4 separate regions of the Homo sapiens genome follow, and regions 1, 2 and 3 are each linked to region 4. Evidence: promoter capture Hi-C in human tissues and cell types (Jung and others, 2019). All regions are on one chromosome and are shown on one strand. The core of a region is centred on a gene start or on the middle of the fragment in contact, and the rest is flanking DNA. Distances in the headings are between cores, read along the strand shown.

Region 1 (2,861 bases), core at 264-2,763, 450 kb after region 4:
CCGAGACTGTGCCATTGCACTCCAGCCTGGGCAACAGAGCAAGACTCCATCTCAAAAAAAAAAAAAAAAAAAAAGGAAAAAAAGTCTAAAGTAAGACCCCCCCACAAAAATACCAAACAAAATGGGAAAAATATCTCAAAACATGACAAAGAGCTATCAACTCTGATTCCCTCTTGTTTACCTCCTACAGTCCAAGTGCCCAAGTCCTAACAATTCTATCTCCTAAACATCTCACTAATCTGTCCAGGCCTCTGTCTCCATTGATACCAACATTCTTTCTTACCCAGATATAAATAGCTCTTTCTTTTTAATAACGGTATACACTGAGCATGGTGGCACAGGCCTGTAATCACAGCTACTCAGGAGGCAAAGGCAGGAAGATCGCTTGAGCCCAGGAGTTAGAGGCTGCAGTGAGATATGATGGCACCACAGAAGAAATGCACTCCAGCCTGAGTAACAGAGTAAGACCTCATTTCTAAATAAGTATTTAAAAATAAAAATAAATGTACAGTTCAATGTGTTGTGACAAATGTTTACACCTACGTATCTACCCTGCCAATCAAAATACATAACAATTCCATCACCCCAAGAAGTTCTCTCATGCCCCTTTCCTATCACTCCCTGGGACCAAGAGTCAACCTCTGTTCTGATTTCTATCACCCTAGCTTACTTCTGACTCTTCCCAAAATTCACAAAAACAGAATTATACTGTAGCAGTATATGGCATGCTTATTTTTCTCAAAATAATGTTTGAGGCCGGGCGCGGTGGCTCACGCCTGTAATCCCAGCACTTTGGGAGGCCGAGGCAGGCGGGTCACGAGGTCAGGAGATCAAGACCATCCTGGCTAACACAGTGAAACCCCATCTCTACTAAAAATACAAAAAATTAGCCGGGTATGGTGGCAGGTGCCTGTAGTCCCAGCTACTCAGGAGGCTAAGGCAGGAGAATGAGGGGAACCTGGGAGGCAGAGCTTGCAGTGAGCCGAGATCGCGCCACTGCACTCTAGCCTGGGCGACAGAGCGAGACTCCGTCACACACACAAAAAAAAAAAAGTTTGAAATTCACGTTATGACATGTATCGTTTGTTCCTTTTTATATATGTCAATTTGTTCATTGTATTATTTGCTATAAAACGAGTTTTACGGCCGGGTGCAGTGGCTCACGCCTGGAATCCCAGCACTTTGGGTGGCCGAGGCGGGCAGATCACAAGGTCAGGAGATCGAGACCATCCTGGCTAACACGGTGAAACCCCGTCTCTACTAAAAAATACAAAAACAAAATTAGCCAGGCATGGTGGTAGGCGCCTGTAGTCCCAGCTACTCGGGAGGCTGAGGTGGGAGAATAGTGTCAACCCAGGAGGTGGAGCTTGCAGTGAGCCGAGATCGCACCACGGCACTCCAGCCTTGGTGACAAAGCGAGACTCCATCTCCAAAAAAAAAAAAAAAAAAAAAAAAAAAGAGTTTTAAAATTTTTTATAGCCAGGCACGGTGGCTCACACCTGTAATCCCAACACTTTGGGAGGCCAAGACGGGCAGATCACCTGAGGTCGGGAGTTCGAGACCAGGCTGGCCAATACGGCAAAACCTCGTCTCTACCAAAAATACAGACATTAGCCAGGTGTGGTGGCGGGGCGCCTGTAATCCCAGCTACTCAGGAGGCTGAGGCAGGGAGAATTGCTTGAACCTGGGAGGTGGAGGTTGCAGTGGGCCAAGATCACGGCATTGCACTCCAGCCTGGGTGACAGAGTGAGACTCTGTCTCAAAAAAAAAAAAAAAAAAATGTTTTACATGTCCCTACTAGAGCTTCTGATACTACAGCTTCTGAGTTTCTTATCTTGATTTAAAATGTCTTTCCATCCCTTGGATTGTACAGTCATTTAAATATTATTCTGAGACTGTTATTGTTTACTTTATATATTTAAGCTTTTAATTCATTTGGAAATGATTTTGGAAAATGATGAGAATGGTGTTCCAATTCTATTTTTTGTCAGATGTCTCAGTTTTATGAGCACCACCTATTAAATTAATCATCTTTTTCTTGCGATACTAAAAATTACCAAGAGGTAGATATTTAACCAGGCCACTGACAATCACACAGTTATGTATTCCTAAGTGAAAGTACTTATCTCATGCTCAGAGTGCTCTAGGAGATTTATCTTTTGAAAAACAAAAACGGTATCACTCTCCTGCTTTTAAAACTCTTCAATAGCTTTGTACTGTCCTTAAGATAAAGATCAGATCTGGCTCCTGCTAACCTCTCCAGTATCATCTAACACTATGCTCTCGCTCTCATTACTGTACTCCAGACACACTAGCCTTCTTCCAGTTCCTCAAACTCAGTGATCTCTCCTGTCAGTGGTCTTTACAGAAGCCTTCATCTCCTTGGGAAACTTACTTTATTTTCTCCCATTAACCCCCACCTAGCCTTCTCCCACCCATCCCTCAGTCTCTACAGATATCATTTCCCCAGGAAGCCTTCCCTTGTCCCATTTTCCTAGGCCCCATATTGTTCAAACCTCGCCAAGAGCTCTCCCTTACAGCACTTGGCACACTTGGAAATAGTAACTATTGGCCCGGGTGTGGTGGCTCACGCCTGTAATCCCAGCACTTTGGGAAGCCAAGCTGGGCAGGTCGCTTAAGCTCAGAAGTTTGAGACCAGGCTGAGCAACATGGTGAAACTCCATCTCTACAAAAAATAGAAAAATTAGCCAGGCATGGTGGTGCCTGCCTGTAGTCCCAGATACTTTGAAGGCTGAGGTGGGAGGATGGCTTAAGCCCAAAGGGTGGAGGCTGCAGTGAGGTGTGGTCATGCCACCACACTCCAGCCTGGGCAAGAGAGCCAGACCCTGTCTCAAAAAAGA
Region 2 (2,897 bases), core at 106-2,605, 360 kb after region 4:
AAGGGCTAGAGTACACATTTTGTATTTAAAAAACAGAGGACATAGCTAAAATATTTATAGAGGATCGACCCCATGGTTTTTTGTCAGCCCCACAGCAAGGAACCAGAACTTGGTTTTGCAAAAATCAATATGCTTACATAGCCCTGCTGAGAGACAGGGCAACAGCCCAAGGCCTGGCTCCCCGGCACTGTAGGCAGCTGTTGCTAGGAACAGGGGCATCAGATCCCAGCATGGCAGGGAGAGCTTCACTTTGCTTGCTGCCACCATTTGTTGAGCACTTGCTAAATGCCAGGCACTGTGCAAAGAGCATTTTCCCCACACAGGTAGGATTAGAAAGTAGTAGTCCTCTTATCTTCTCTAATGGATGGAAAAACTGAGGCTCAGGATGGGAAGGTAACTTGTCCAAATAACACACAGGAAGATTAAAAGTAGAACACCTCATTTCTCAAAGCAGCAGAAAAACAAGTATGTTCCAAAACTACCAATGGAGAAAAATTTGCATGCTGTAAACTAACAGTTCATTAAATTCTGTTTAAGGCTGGATGCGGTGGCTCACGCCGGTAATCCCAGCACTTCAGGAGGCTGAGACTGGCAGATCACCGGAGGTCAGGAGTTCAAGACCAGACTGGCCAACATGGCGAAACCCCGTCTCTACAAAAAATGTAAAAATTAGCTGGGCGTGATGGCACAAGGCCTGTAATCCCAGCTAATGGGGAGGCTGAGGCAGGAGAATCACTTGAACCCAGGAGGCAGAGGTTGCAGTGAGTCAAGATCATGCCACTGCACTCCAGCCTGGGCGACAGAGACTCTGTCTCAAAAAAAAAAAAAAAAAAAAGAAAGAAAGAAAACAATGGAAAATTCCAGAAATAAACAATTCCTAAGTTTTAAGTTGCACACCATTCTGAGCAGTGTGATGTAGTCTTCTGCCATCCCACTTGGGACACAAATCATTCCCTTTGTCTGTCATGTCCACGCCGCATATGTGATCCACCCTATACTATGTGATTGTATAGAGAAAAACAGCATACATATATGGTTTGGCAGTTTCCAAGGTTTCAGACATCCACTGGGGGGTCTTGGAGCATAACCTCATGAATAAGGTGGGACTCCTGCAGTTGCGACAGAGACCAGACAGTCTTCAAAACCTAAAATATTTGTATTTTTCAGTACAGGAAAAGCTTGTCAACCCCTGGTCTACACACCTGGTTATCTTGGACCATCCTGCCCCAGACTTCCTCCGTAACAACCCATATAATGTTTCTATGACCATAGACGTAAAAGGAAACTGTGACCTTTACCAAAATAAGCAACTTATTTTTCACAAATTACTTATGTAATAAGCATCCTGTTTCCAAAACAGACCTCAGTTTTCAGGTCCGTTTTGAATTGACATTTGTCACACTGCTGACTCCTTTGTTACTGAGTGAACGATATATTCTTGAGACCAATTTTTCTAAGAAATGTTATTTTAGCACATGTTCCATGGAAAGGAGGGTTTACGTTTCCAAAATACAGATGTGACAAAGAGGAAGCACATCTGATGGCCAATGAGGAGAAACAACAGAGTGGATCCTGAGGCCTCCCGTGTCCTTTCAGCCTCCCTCTGCTACTCCCACTGCTGGCCACACCAGCCTCAGGGAGGGACTGCCATGTGCACTTTCCACGGCAGCTCATTTAACTCTTGCAGGAAACCCAAGAGGCATGTTGTGTTTCTGTCTCTGCTTTACTGACAAGGACAGGGAAGCCCAGGGAGTGAGGCGTCTCACCCAGGTCAGTGTCGGCGCACACAGGAGGCAACCAGGGCATGTGGCAGGGCCCCACAGGACACCAGGGCCTCTCAAACCCACTACCCTTTCAGGCCCCTCTGCTGCTCACCATTGGTGAAGTGGGGCTGTCAGGAGCAAAGAGAATTTCTGGATTTTCTCCTAACATTTTCCCCTACTTTAACCTCCCTTCATCTGTTGAATTTACTGCAAATCTTTCCTAGTCTTTTAGTTTTCCTATACTTAAAAAAACCTTGTTTTTAAAAATTACATAATTAGGCCAGGCACAGTGGCTCATGCCTATAATCCCAGCACTTTGGGAGGCTGTGGGCGGATCACCTGAGGTCAGGAGTTCGAGACCAGCCTGGCCAACATGGTGAAACCGTCTCTACTAAAAATACAAAAATTAGCTGGGCATGGTGGCACGTGCTTGTAATTCCAGCTATTCAGGAGGCTGAGGCAGGAGAATCACTTGAACCCAGGAGGCAGAGGTTGCAGTGAGACGAGATCACGCCATTGCACTCTAGCCAAGGCGACAGAGTGAGACTCCATCTCAAAAAAATACACACACACACACACACACACACAAAGTTAGCCAGCCGTGGTGGCACACACCTGTAATCCCAGTTAGTTGGGAGGCTTAGGTGGGAGAATAGCTGGAACCCATGAAGCAGAGGTTGCGTGAGCTGCGATCGTGCCACTGCACTCCAGCCTGCAGCCTGGGTAACAGAGTGACACTCTGTCTCAAAAAAAAAAAAAAAATTTTTTTTTAATTATATAAGCTCATGGTGAAAAATATCAGCATTATGGAATATAAAATTAAATGTCTCCTGTAATCCTAGCACTTTGGGAGGCTGAGGCGGTGGTTCATTGAAGGCCAGAAGTTTGAGACCAGCCTGGCCAACATGCTGAAACCCCATCCCTACTAAAAACACACAAAAAATTAGCCAGGCCTAGTGGTGGGCACCTGTAATCCCAGCTACTTGGGAGGCTGAGGCAGGAGAATCACTTGAACCTGGGAGGCGGACGTCGCAGTGAACTGAGATCGCACCACTGCACTCCAGCCTGGGTGACTGAACAAGACTCCGCCTCAAACAAACAAACAAGTCTCACCCACCCTCTAAAATAATTCCC
Region 3 (2,981 bases), core at 202-2,701, 290 kb after region 4:
AGGAGAATGGCATGAACCCGGGAGGTGGAGCTTGCAGTGAGCTGAGATCGTGCTACTACACTCCAGCCTGGGAGACAGAGCAAGACTCCGTCTCAAAGGAAAAAGATAATGACATTAATCCTTCTCTTAAAGGTCCCACCTCGACAGGGCACACTTTGGGAGACTGAGGCAGGAGGGTTGCTTGAGGCCAGGAGTTCAAGACCAGCCTGGGTGACATCATGAGACTTTGTCTCAAAAAAACAAAAAGACAACCAAAAAAAGTTCTATCTCTCAACACTGTTACATAAACATATGAACTTCGGAGGACACATTCAAACCAAAGCACTTAGCAAGCAAATACAACCAGCTACCAAATATTATATTTTCATATTTTTAAAATTTGTTTTATTTATTTTGTAGATTGAGACAGGGCCTTGCTCTGTCACCCAGCCCAGAGTGCAGTGATGCAGTCATAGCTCACTGCAGCCTTGAACTTCTGGGCACAAGCTATCCTCCCACCTCAGCCTCCCTAGTAGCTGGGACTACAGATATGCACCACTATGCCCAGCTTTTTTTTTTTTTTTTAATGTTTTGTAGAGATGGTATCTTGCCATGTCACCAAGGCTGGTCTTGACCTCCCGGGCTCAAGCCAACCTCTTTCTTTAGCCTCCCAAAGTGATGGTTTTATAGACTTGAGTCATCACACCTAGCCTACTTAATTTTTAAAATGGGCAAAAGACTAAAATAGAAATTTCACTGAAGGCTACATATGAATGAATGATAAACACACAAAAAGGGGCTCGTCATTAGAGAAATGCACACTGAGACCACAGTGACATAGTAGCATATCCCCACTGGGATGGCTGCAACAAGAAAGGAAAAGCCATCCAGCAGCTTGTTTTGTAGATATTGACAAACTGATTCTAAAGCTTATGTAGAAAGGGAAAAGACTCAAAACGCAACATTTACAAAGAAAAGCGATGTTGGAGGAGTGATACTACCCAATTTCGAGAATTACTATAAAGCTGCAGTGATCAAGACAGCATGGTAAAGTTGTCCACAAGGTCTTGTCTGTTGCATTATAGTCAACCCTAATGTCTATTAAATGGCTACTGTGTTTCAGACACTTTCATACATGTTAGCTCAGTTACTTCTCGTATCAGTACTTTTTTTATTATTTATTTTTTTGAGACAGAGTCTTGCTCTGTCATCCAAGCTGGAGTACAGTGGCGCAATATTGGCTTACTGCAACCTCCACCTCCCGGCTTCAAGCAATTCTCATGCTCAGCCACTGGAGTACCTGGGATTACAGACATGTGCCACCATGCTTGGCTAATTTTTGTATTTTTTGTAGAGACAGGTTTCGCCATGTTGGCCAGGCTGGTCTTGAACTCCTGACCTCAAGTGAGGACCTCCTTTGCCTCAGCCTCCCAAAGTCCAGGGATTACAAGCATGAGCCACTGCACCCAGCCTTGTATCAATACTTTATGTCAGGGTTGATTAAAAAAAATTCTTTTAATTTTGATAAAATACACATAAAATGTGCTGTCTTAAATGTTTTTAAGTGTACAGGTCAGCAGTGTTAAGTATATAGCCAGCCCTCCATACCCACAGCTTCTGCATCCGTGGATGCAACCAGCCATGGATCAAAAATATTTGAAAAACAATAATACAACAATAAAAAAATAAACAGCATAGCAACTGTTACATAGCTTTTACATTGTACTAGGAATTATAAGTAATCTAGAGATGATTTAAACTCATAGGAGGATGGGCATAGGTTATAGGCAAATTCTCTGCCGTTTTATATCAGGAACTTGAGCATCTGTGGATTTTGGTACCTTGCGGGGTCCTGGAACCAATTGCCCAAGGATACCTAGGAATGATTCTATTGGTGAAAGAATAGACAAAAAAGATCACTGGAATGGAAGAGAGAGCCCAGAAATAGACCCATACAAATACAGTCAACTGATTTTGACAAAGGAGCAAAGGCAACTGGAGAAAGCCTAGTTTTTTTTTTCCAAGAAATGGTACTGGAACAACTGGACATCCACATACAAAATAATGAATTTAGATATCCTGTTTTACAAAAGTTAAAACCACAGACATAAAAGCAACATGCAAAAGTATAAAACTCCTACAAAATAATAGAAAATTTAGGTGAATTTGGGTTACACCGTGACTTTTTAAAATTTTTTATTTTACTTTATTTTTAGAGATGGGGGTCTCACTCTGTTGCCCAGGCTGGAGTGCAGTGGTATAATCATAGCTGACTATAGCCTTGGACTGTTGGGCTCAAGCAATCCTCCTGCCTCAGCCTCCCAAGTAGCGAAGACTATAGGTGTGTGCCAACCCCGCCTCCCCGCCGACCCCCTCCCCCAGCTAATTTTTAAAAACTTTTGTAGAGATAGGGTCTCCCTATGTTGCCCAGGCTGGTCTCAAACTCCTTGGTTGAAATGATCCTCCCACCTCAGCCTCCCAAAGTGCTGGGATTACCAGCACTGGTATGCTGGCATGAGCTCTACTGCACCTGGCTGGCAGTTTCTTAAAAAGCTAAAAATAAAGTTATCATTTGACTTAACAGTTCAACTCCCAGAACTCTACTAAAAGAAATGAAAACAAATCCACACAAAGACTTCCACGTGAACATTCTAAACAGCATTATTGATGATAGCAAAAACTAGAAACAACCCAAATGTCCATCCACTGATGAATGGATAAACAAAGGCAGTATTTCCATACAATGGAACTACTCGGTAATAAAAGGAATGAAGCAGTGACGCATGCTGCAGCATTGATGAACCTCAAAAACAGTATGCTAAGGAGAAGCAGCCAGACACAGGACTGCATATCATAAGACCCTACTTATATGAAATTGTTCATACAGACAGAAAGCAATGCAGTGGATTGCCCAGGGCAGGAGATGGGAGCAGGGATTAACTACAAAACAGTCTCCAGGAAATTCTGCGGGGTGATGGAAAACTAGATGGTGGTGATGGTTA
Region 4 (3,181 bases), core at 576-3,075:
AGCCTGACACCCCTCCTCACCCTCCCCGCATCCAGGTTCTCACCCAGATCATAGCAATGCCTTTTAATTGTCCAGTTGGGATCTTGGGGAGGATGGAGCTTTGTCTCTCTTGTTTCCAGCTGTACTGCAGTGTGAGACACAGTACCTGGTGCTCAGTAAGTATCATTAAGTGAAGACTGATTGTCCCATCTGCTTCCTCACATCTTTGCCTGGTGATGAGCAAATGGAAGCTCAGAGAGGGCAGTGACTCACCAGCATTTCATGCTGGGATGGAGGCAGGTTTAGAGCTTGAATCTGAGTCCAGCGCCCACGCTTTCTCTCCTGCAAGGATGAAAGGCTACAGGGGTTGAGAAAACCCTCCCTTCTGCCCTGAAGGCAGAGCTGTGGCACGGCTCAGGCTTGCTTCCTCATCCCCTGAGTGTGAGGCTTTGCTGCCAACACACAGGGGCTTGTCCCACCTGGGGCAGGAGGAGGCAGAGTCTATGGCACTGCTTCTCTGAATCTGATTGATTCAGCCCCACAATCTCAGGCCCTCCAGACACCAAAATGAACAAGATCCAGCCCCAGCTTCAGGGGTGTCTCCACCTGCTGAAGGTGGTCTCTGCTGAACTTTTCTAGGTTCTGAATCCCACCTCACCCCAACCCTTCTGCATCCTAGCTCATAGGATGTACGAATGACTCCCGTGCCTGGACTAGTGGCTTTACATAGGTAATGGTGGCTCCTCAGAGCACAGAGAGGTGCAGTGGAGTCCCAGAGCCCCTGAGCCGAGAATCAAGCCCAGATCTGCCTGGCTCTGAAGCCTGGGCTGCGCCAAGCCTATCACATATCCCAGCCCTCAACTGTCCAAGAACAAGACCGCACCCAGTTGGGAGGGGTGAGGAAAGGAGGCTCTAGGGAGGCCACAGCACCTGCACTGGGCCTAAGAGGGTGTCCCAGGAGGGATGAGAAGGAGCAGAGCAGCCAAGCCAGGGTGCAGAGGCAGGGAAGAGTGGGGCGAGAGAAGGGTGGAAGGAAGGTTCAGCCCAGTCCGCAGGCCGGAGAGTTTGGATTTTGATCTGATGGTAGTAGGGAGACACAAAAGGTGTTTGCGCAGTGTGAGGTCATCTGTGCTTGGGGAGCCTATGCTGGCTGTGCACTGGGGAGTGGAAGGGAGGCAAGGAGCCCAGTCAAGAGGCCATTAGAAGGTCCAGAGGTGGCTCATAGTTTTGATAGATTTCATCCTGCTCAAGTTTGAGGCAGAGTGAAAGCTATTGGGAGGGAAATACACCAGAGGACACGGAGGGCCCATGAGTGCTGAAGAAGGCTGCAGCTGGGTTGGGCGTCGATGACATAAACCTGAGAGAGAGCAGGAGGATGTGCAGGGCCATGTGAAGTAGGGTCTGCATTTGGGGGCTCTGTACATAGTAGGTACTCAGTAACTGTTCATTGGATGAATGGATGAATAACTCCTTGTCTCTGGGTCAGCTCTGGTCTTACCCTCTCCTGTTTCTCACACCTCTTCTCTTTGCCCACCCTGTCCTGTGGCCCTGGGGAGACCTCAGCTGGCCCAGTAGAGGCAGTGCTGGCCCATGGTTCTGCCGGAGGCGCCTCCATGTTTGCGGGTGCACCGCACGCCTTCTCCCTCTCTGTCCCCCTCCCCCTCCCTGTCCTTATCTTTCCCTTCTGTCTCCATGGCGACTCACCACCTCGGCTTGCCTGCATCCCAGCCTCTGCCAGGGATTCTGAGCCGGGCTCCATCCCTCCCTCCTCGGAGCCCTGCTACCCGCAGCCGTGTCTCCTCCCCCTGGGGTGAGTCCAGCAGCAGCCTCCTCTTTCCTGACTGTCACATTTCTTTTCCAGCTCTGACCGGGAGTCAGCTCCTCGGGGATACCATCCCCCGACCTCACCTTCTACCTACCGCAGCCTGCTAGCCTTTCCGGGAGAAAAGGCATCCTTACCTCTGGTTGAAGGTCTCGGGGCCTCCCCCTCTGCATCCGGACCCTCTCCCCATCCCAGCCTCCCATGCCAAGGCCCGCCTTGTCAGTCACTTCCTTTTGTCATCGGCTTGGCAAACGGGCAAGTCTTCAGTCCTAAGATCGGGAAGGAGAGTGGGGTGGGAAGGGCCCTCCTTGGGCTGGGGGATGGGCCGGGGGTGGGGAGGATGAGGGGTCCCTGGAAATCCAGGGTGAAGATAGAAGTCTGGATTATGTTCTAAATCTTTTTTTTTTTTTTTTTTCTCCAAGGAGAGAAAACAGAGCTTCATGGGAAACAGCGGCAACAGTTGGTAAGTAGCAGGGCCTTCCAGGCTGGGATGGGTGCAGTGAGGCCAGGCAGGTCAGTTGAAATGGCCGGTCCTGGAACACAGAGCCCGGCAGCCCAGCCGGGAGGGCTGTCCGCCTGAGGCTGGATCCGCCAGGCTGTGGAGGGAGGGACAGGAAGAAGCAGGTGGGTGCTGCAGGGAGGCAGATGCCAGCTCAGAGCAGAGAGCGGAAGGAATCTTCTAAGATCCAGAGCCATCTGCCCAACTGCAGCACAGGCTGATGGCTTCTCCTCACTGTCCCTGTAGCATGGGGTTGTGGAGGGTATCATCCCTGGGGGCCTGGCTGAAGTCAGCACCTCATGGAGGGAGCCCCGCTGTAGAACGCCGGGAGAGGCTCTTCCCAAGCATTTGCACCAGGCACTGTGCAGACAGCTGCACACGCCTCCTCTCGGATGGCCACCCCAACGGCCCCATGAGGGGTATTGCTATCCTCTCCATTGGGACAGTTAGGAAATTGAGGCCCAGAGAGGGGAAGGAACTTGCTTGCATTTGCATGGCTGGGATGTGGTGGAGTCCATTCCACTCAGATTTTCTCCCTCTCAGACTCTCTCACCATTGCTCTGCTGCCCCCACTCTGAGGCCCCCAGGTCCTAGGACACATGTCAGTGAGGAACGGGCAGAGCTTGGCCTCTCTGGGAGCAGCTCCGCCTGTCCATGGAGGCACTGATGGAAATTGGGTTGGCACAAAGGGACCTCCACTCCCAAGCCATCAGTCTTCCACCACAACCCTGGCCGGTACCCCCTGCCCCCAATAGACATCCTGCTTTTCAATGGCCTGTTTTGCCCCACAGGTCCCATACACCTTTCCCCAAGTTGGAGCTAGGCCTGGGGCCCCAGCCCATGGCGCCCCGGGAGCTCCCTACCTGCTCCATCTGCCTGGA

What was found. Contacts are between HindIII fragments. The study calls those that stand out against the background at their distance.
Region 1: a fragment that was not itself captured here is called in contact with the fragment with the promoter of RNF112 in region 4 in 2 of the 25 tissues and cell types used here (dorsolateral prefrontal cortex and thymus).
Region 2: a fragment that was not itself captured here is called in contact with the fragment with the promoter of RNF112 in region 4 in 5 of the 25 tissues and cell types used here (dorsolateral prefrontal cortex, mesenchymal stem cells, ovary and 2 more).
Region 3: a contact is called between a fragment that was not itself captured here and the fragment with the promoter of RNF112 in region 4, in 2 of the 25 tissues and cell types used here (dorsolateral prefrontal cortex and lymphoblastoid cells).

Annotation. Positions count from the first base shown.
Region 1 is chr17:19,855,547-19,858,407 of GRCh38, forward strand. The region is part of intron 3 of ULK2 (unc-51 like autophagy activating kinase 2); the gene reads right to left. Among named protein-coding and RNA genes, the nearest start is that of TRG-CCC3-1, 3.9 kb to the right of the region's middle. The HindIII fragment of the contact is 7,474 bases long and covers 1-2,861 here.
Region 2 is chr17:19,766,907-19,769,803 of GRCh38, forward strand. No RefSeq gene overlaps it. Among named protein-coding and RNA genes, the nearest start is that of ALDH3A1, 20 kb to the left of the region's middle. RefSeq lists an enhancer at 1-7. The HindIII fragment of the contact is 9,349 bases long and covers 1-2,897 here.
Region 3 is chr17:19,697,204-19,700,184 of GRCh38, forward strand. All of the region lies in intron 13 of SLC47A2 (solute carrier family 47 member 2), which reads right to left. Among named protein-coding and RNA genes, the nearest start is that of SLC47A2, 18 kb to the right of the region's middle. The HindIII fragment of the contact is 3,572 bases long and covers 1-2,981 here.
Region 4 is chr17:19,409,407-19,412,587 of GRCh38, forward strand. It overlaps RNF112 (ring finger protein 112), which reads left to right and starts at 1,826. Exons shown (of 14, transcript NM_007148.5): 1 at 1,826-2,056; 2 at 2,224-2,264; 3 at 3,092-3,181. The coding sequence starts at 2,003. The HindIII fragment of the contact is 25,812 bases long and covers 1-3,181 here.